2 separate regions of the Homo sapiens genome follow, and region 2 is linked to region 1. Evidence: promoter capture Hi-C in human tissues and cell types (Jung and others, 2019). All regions are on one chromosome and are shown on one strand. Each heading gives the region's core, a stretch centred on a gene start or on the middle of the fragment in contact. The rest is flanking DNA. Distances are from core to core; before and after follow the strand shown. Region 1 holds the start of TLX1 (T cell leukemia homeobox 1). Region 2 has its middle 28 kb from the start of LINC02681.

Region 1 (3,192 bases), core at 470-2,969:
CCAGGGAACCCTAAGGGGAGCAGAAAGTGAGAACGGGGGAAGGGATCCACGCCAGAGGGAGAGTTGAGTGCCCAGAGTGGAAACGGGAGCAGAGGGAGCCAGGGCCAGCAGAGGAAGGCGGGAGCGGGCAGCAGAGAAGGCGGCAGCGGCCACCACTTAGTACCCAATGTCCCGGGAGTAGTCTTCCCGCCACCGATCACCAGCCTACCGGTGCATTGTTCGTGCCCAAGATAACAGGGCTGGGCCCGGGGTAGGACACCCAGCCGGGAGAGAACGAAAATGAAAAGCTAGCTGTCCTGGGCGGCTAAGCCCCGCTGCCATCCTCCCAGATGAAGCCTGCTCTCCGGAAAAAAAAAAAAAGGCCACTGGTTCTGCTGATTTACCGGGGCTCAGAGCCCCCACTGGCCCCGCAGCACCACGGGCACCGGAGCTAGGGGCGCGAAGTGCATGTGTGTAGGGGACTGGAGGTGGGGGAACCTGTTCTTTTCTTGTGTCTGATCCTGGGGCTCGCTTCCTGGGTCCTAGAACAGCAGCCAGGACGGAAGAAACTGTTCACGTTGCACCCCTTTCTCTAAGATTCCCAGGCCAAGAGTAGCTGCAGAAGGTGGTCCTGAATCTATGGCCTCCTTCTCTCTGCCTGACCCGGCTAGTGGATCCGGAGAGGGGACCAGGGAGAGCTCCTCCGAGCAGGGGTCCTTCGGGAGACAGAGAGGGGTCCAGGCTGAGAGAACTCTTCAAGCATGGCGAGTCTGCGTTATAGAATCGGGCGGGCGGCTCAACTTGGGGGAAGCACCAAGAAGAGCTGGGCGACCTGGAGCGCAGAACCGGCTTTGGGGAGCCACCCGGCGGGGCAGGGGTAGCACGGAGCCCGGGCCGCGGCCAGGCGGGGAGCGCGCGGGCCGGACTCACCTGTGAACCTGTCCTTTGTGTATCTGCGGTTACTCTCCATCCAGGGGAAGGTGAGGCCAGTGAGGTTGTTGACGCCCGGCATGGCAGGCACAGAGGGCACGGTGGGCAAGCCGGTGGCCAGGGGCTGGGGGTGGGCCACGGCTCCGGCGAGCGGCCTGTGTGCCGGCACCCGGATTACCCCCGCAGCGCTGAGTGCCCCGGCACCGCCGCTGCTGCCGCCGCCGCCGCCAGGACCGGGGCCGCCTGCCAAGGCCATGTTCACGTTGTAGGAGCCGGTCAGAGGACCCATGCTGCAGGCGCCGCCGCCGCCTGCCGGGCCTCCGGGGCCGCCGGGACCTCCAGTACCATAGGCCCCCGCTCCTCCAGCCCCCGTCGCGGCCGCGGAGCCCCCGCCGCCGTAAGTGTAGGCGCCTCCGACCAAGCAGCCAAGGCCGTATTCTCCGTCCTGGAGGCGCGAGGCGGGTCCCATGCAGCCACCCTGGTCCGGGCTGTTGAGGATCTGGTCGATGCCGAAGCTAATGGGCTCTGCGTGACCCGGGTGGAGGTGGTGCGGACCCAGGTGCTCCATGCTGGCCCTGGCCCCACCGGGGGGCCCGGGCGGCGGCGCTCGCTGCGCTCGGCTCGGGGGGCAGCTAGCAGGGGCTGGGAGGCAACAGCGGCTCCTGGCTGCGCGGAGACTTGGAAGCGAAGTGCGCAGAAAGGCTAAAGTAGAAGGGGGAGGGGAGGGAGAGAGGGGGCGCCGTATTCTTCCCCTCTCTGGCTTCTGCTTCCCCGCTCCGGCTGCTCGCTCGCTGTTGACTCTGGGACATCAATCACCAGGCGAAAAAGCCCGGTGCAAGAGAGCTTCGCGGTTTCGACTGGGTCTCTCCATTGGCTGTGCGCGGAGAGGAGCGGGGTGAATGACAGCGCGAGGGAGGGGAGGGGAGGGGGAGAGGAAGGCCAGAAGCCGAGACAGATGCAGGAGCCAGAGATAGAGGGACGGAGACCAAGACTCGGAGTAGTTCATGAAGAGAGAGAAGAGGGGAACAAGGCGAGGCTTAAAAGGAAAAGGGAAAACAGGAAGCGACCATTCCCAGAGACGGACAGACAGACAAACCCAAGGAGGGTGAAGTCAACTGTCTTCCCGGCCTGTTGGGAGCCCTCCCCTCACTTTGAACTGGGCCAAAGGAGTCCAGCCCACAAGGCGTCTGAGGAAGGGATGTCTCTGCCCAACTGGAGAATCTCCTCAAGGGCTCAGCTGCGAAACACCTGTCACTCAACCAGGAGATTTACTCCAAATTTCAAGTCCAGCTTTTTAGAAAGTAGAAGACTGTCTACTCCCCAGGTATGGAGCCCAGGCCCTGAGGCAGGACGGTGAGTTCAGGCTTGCCCTTCTTTAAAACACAGGCCTATGAACAACTGGCTATATGTTATAAAAATCAGCAACCACCCCCCAACTCAGCCTTCTTAGACAAATTCAGGAAGGGAACATATCCTGAAAGGCAGGCACAAGTCAAGAGGGTTGGTTTGGGGTCTGCTGCCAGGGTGCCCATGCCTCAACATACCCCTTTGGTTTTAAATAAACAGATGCGTCAAGAAGTAAAATCCTACAGGGTTCGAAAGAGGCAATTCCTACAGTGTTTGAATGAATTCAACCAGATTGCATTCCACCTAACAATTACCCCAGGGTTGGCTATTCCAGACAAGAAGCCTTTGGACTGTGGTGTGTGTTCTTTTCTTACGTTTGGAATCTTGGGAGGGAGCCATAGGGGCTTAAGGCCGTGGGGGCTGGGATTGGTGGGACTAGGATCAGGGAAGTGCATCCAGGACAAATTTAGGCCTTTCCAACGTTTTGCCAGTGGCTGTCTGGCTGAGAGCCCAAGAGAAAAGGAGGAAACTCCCTTTTTCTTCTTCCTGTCTTTCCCCTCTCCAGTAGAAAATGTTTGCTACCTTTTAGAAGCCAAGCTTTGGGAAAGGCACAGGTTCCATCACTTGGGATCTATTTCTGTTCTATTTCAGTTCAGTTTCAGATTAGACTTTTGGGTAGGCCCTGTCTCTATCTGGAAAGATGCTAGGATGTGAAGACTCACATTCTCTCCCATCAAGTCTTATTGCAATCTATTTGCTTTGGGCATGTCTGTCACCTCCACTTGAAGAGATCTTCTTGGAGGCAGAGAGTGGCTTATTCATTTCTGTTCTCTCCTGAAGAATACAGCCCCAAACAACAAAATATGGTCATCTTGGGTGAATAACAAAGAATGTATCTCTTTATTCAATAATATTTATTGAGTACTGTACTCACTA
Region 2 (3,192 bases), core at 354-2,853, 160 kb before region 1:
GGAGAGCTGGAGATATTTATATACCCGGCGCCTGCCTTCCGTGTGCGCGCGTGCGTGTGCGCGGCGGGCGCGGGCGCGGCCGCGGGCCGGAGCGGGGGTAGGGGGTGGTTCTGGGGCGCGCCGCCGAGCTGAATGATTTCCAGCCCCTACTCAATAAGAGGAGAATTTAGAGCGGTCCCTGAGCTGGGCTCCCAGAAACAGCCTTACACGTTTATTTTCCTTAGCTGAACAGGAAAGAGGAGAATTATATGTGGATTTATAGGACAGGCGCAGCTCAACCCAAATGCTCCCGCTCCAGGGGGCGGGGACGAGGGGGAGGGAGGTGGCAGGCCGGGCGCCGGCCGCTGGGACCCTCGCTCGTGCCTGCGTTGGTGGGGGCACACCCCCCTCGCCGGTCGCTTTAATTACATTTGTTCTCGTCCTTCGTGAGGGCGAGACTTCGGCGCGGCCCGCGTGGGGGGCGGGAGGAGGCGCAGGCCAGGACTGCCTGGAGGGGGGCGCGGGGAATGGGAACGTGGGGAGCCCGGGAGGGGGTGCTGTCAGCTTTTGCTCAGAAGCGGATCAATAGTACGAGATCTAATGGGCTAACTGCCAAGCGGGTGCACCGAGGCGCTGCCCCGCGGGGGCGGGAGGCGGTGGGCGAAGGACGAGAGAAAGGAATGGGGGTGGGAGAGGGAGTGAGGACGGGGAGGGGGGAAGGGCAGGAAGAGTGGAAGAGGTGGGGGGAGGAGGAAGAGAGAAAATAAAGAAGGGGAGAGAAGGCGAGCGGGAGCGGGAGGGCAGGGACAGGACAGGACAGTCTTCGTAGGGGCGTTTCTTCACAAGGGGGATCCTTTCCTGGAGCTGCCAGACGCCGCAGTCGCCAGCCGCCGGGCCTCAACTCTGTCATTGAGCCGCCAGGGGGCGGCGCGACCCTGTGCTCTCCCCGCGGATCTCAGGGTCTCCTCGCTGGGGCGCGAGTGACCGGTCGCCGCCGATGATTGGTCCCTGCCCGGCGCCCTCTGCCCTCTCCCGGAGGCCTCCCGCGTGGCAGGGTGGGCGTACGGCGACTCCCCCCAACTCCTGCCCCAAAGGAAGGAACCTTCTGGCTTTCCTGGTGTTGGCCCTGGCGCCCTGGGACCCTAGAGCCCCGGGGAAGCGCCCAAAGGCTAGGTCACCGGCCCAGGGCTGGCCACTGTCCCCGGAAGACCCCCAAGGCCGCGGCCGACGCGGCATGGAGGCGCTGGGAGATCTGGGCCTTCGCAGCCCGGCTAGGGAGCGTGGACGAGTCTCCGGGACATCCTGCGCGAAGGGTCCTTCTGTGCGTGCTGCGCGGGCGCTAACGAGGCCAGCCAGAGTCACCAGGGATGAAGGCTATAGGGCCCGGTTTTAACTCATTCGGTTCCTGGCCATTGACTGTCCTTTTTTCAGTTCTGGGGCCTCATCCCTTCCCAAACTGAGAAAATAAAATACAGCCCAACACCCTCAATGGCAAGTTTAGCCACCCTGGAGAGGGGAGCCTGGTGGTGACGGCTCAGTGTTCTCGACCTGGCAGGATAGCAGAATTACTTGAGGGAGATTTTTAACATAAGCGTGTTTACCCGCACGCATGCATTGTAAGAAGCTTGTATGTAGAGGCAGGGCTTCCTGGAAGCATGCCCGGTGTCAGAGCTCCCCCAGATAACGCTGATACAGAGTCCCACATGAGCATTACCTGAAGAAACTGCCTGGAGGTGCGGCACTGGGAATGGGAACATGGGGAGACCAGGAGTGGGGCACTGTCAGCTTTGGCTCCAAGCAGATCAATAATAGTACAAGATATAATGGGCTACCTGCCAAGTGGGTACACTGAAAAATGTCACATATTTTTTCATGTTGGATGTGGTAGCTCGGCCTGGGCTATTTGCCCTCATGGATGTGTCTGTGTGTCGCTGCATGTGTATGTTGCTGGGTACCTGCACCACTGGGTAAGCATTGCTTTATGCATCTTTTTATGTATCCTCTGTGTGCGGATGTCACTGGGTATGCATCATCCCGTGTATCACTGGTGTTATCATCAGCGTTTACTGAGAGCACCTATTGTGTGTGTGTTGTCGTACATGCCTGTCCTGATGAGAGTGAGTGCGGATCCTGGGGTGTGTTTGTGTTGTATCGAGCACATCTCTGTGGGCTCCATTGTGGGGCACAGCCATTGTCTCCATGTCATTGAGAGTGTGTGCTGGCAAGAGCTCGTGACACAAATGGAACGAAGCTGATCTGCCCTAGAAGCAAAGGAGGCAATGACCTTCTTTTTCCAATTATATCCTGGTCAGAGGTGAGCGACCTCTCTCCACCGAGGCCACTTCTTGTCATGCAAACTGAGCAGAAGGATGGAGATTAGAGGAATGTGACCGAGTCACGTGTGAAAACAATCAGCTATCAATGGGCCCCGATCAATGCCCCAGATTATAGATGAGCCCAGGGCAAGCAGTCACTTTGGAGTTTTTCCTGAGGAGGCAAAAATACACAGCACACAGCCATACACGTCACACGTCCCGAGAGACCCACAGCCTGGGGACAGGTAGGAAGTGGGTTGGGGAGAGCTGGGCAAGTGAATGGCCACCCACTTTGAAGTGGTCGGCAACTATTATTATTAGTAGGTGGTTATGTTGTTTTTGTTAAAGATGCAACCTTTATTCCGCTGGTAGCGGGAAGTGTAAAAGCTTGTGTTTGGTGTTTTCTATTTTAAGTCCAGAGAGTTAGGTCTCTTAAGTGGGTCACAGGAGACAGTGTGGGGATTTGGAGGAAACTTATATCAGGAACGGGAGCAATAGAGGGCTTGTATTGAGAGAGTGGCAAAGGAAAGTCTTTGGTCAGCTGTGGGCAGGGGGCAGGTGTGAAGCAGAGTGGCTCCTGGGGCCAGGGCACATGTCCTTAGGACAACTTGAAACCAGGCTGTGGGGTGAGAGGGCTGAGCTTCTGAAAGGCAGGGCCAGCCCTAACCACAAATATGCTCCACGATAGCAGGAGAGTGCCGGGCTTGGGGAGTAGTGGCCTCTGAAGGGCATGACCATGAGGGCCCTCATGAAGTGTGACTAGTCTTTGGAGACAGGTGGTGCAGGCCCTTGAGGGGCTATAAGGATGAGCTGAGGGGGCCAGGACTGGGTCAGAACCTATAGGGTCAAGGGAGACCAATGAGAAGATGGAAGAGTTCTGGAAAGGCTAGAGGACCTC

Evidence for each region. Contacts are between HindIII fragments. The study calls those that stand out against the background at their distance.
Region 2: a contact is called between a fragment that was not itself captured here and the fragment with the promoter of TLX1 in region 1, in 3 of the 25 tissues and cell types used here (lymphoblastoid cells, mesendoderm cells and neural progenitor cells).

The regions. Positions count from the first base shown.
Region 1 is chr10:101,129,827-101,133,018 of GRCh38, reverse strand. TLX1 (T cell leukemia homeobox 1) reads right to left here and starts at 1,719. Exons shown (of 3, transcript NM_005521.4): 1 at 910-1,719. The coding sequence starts at 1,477. It overlaps TLX1NB (TLX1 neighbor), which reads left to right and starts at 1,873. Exons shown (of 3, transcript NR_130723.1): 1 at 1,873-2,233. The HindIII fragment of the contact is 11,337 bases long and covers 1-3,192 here.
Region 2 is chr10:101,289,504-101,292,695 of GRCh38, reverse strand. No RefSeq gene overlaps it. Among named protein-coding and RNA genes, the nearest start is that of LINC02681, 28 kb to the right of the region's middle. RefSeq lists enhancers at 697-1,236, 1,237-1,776. The HindIII fragment of the contact is 6,298 bases long and covers 1-3,192 here.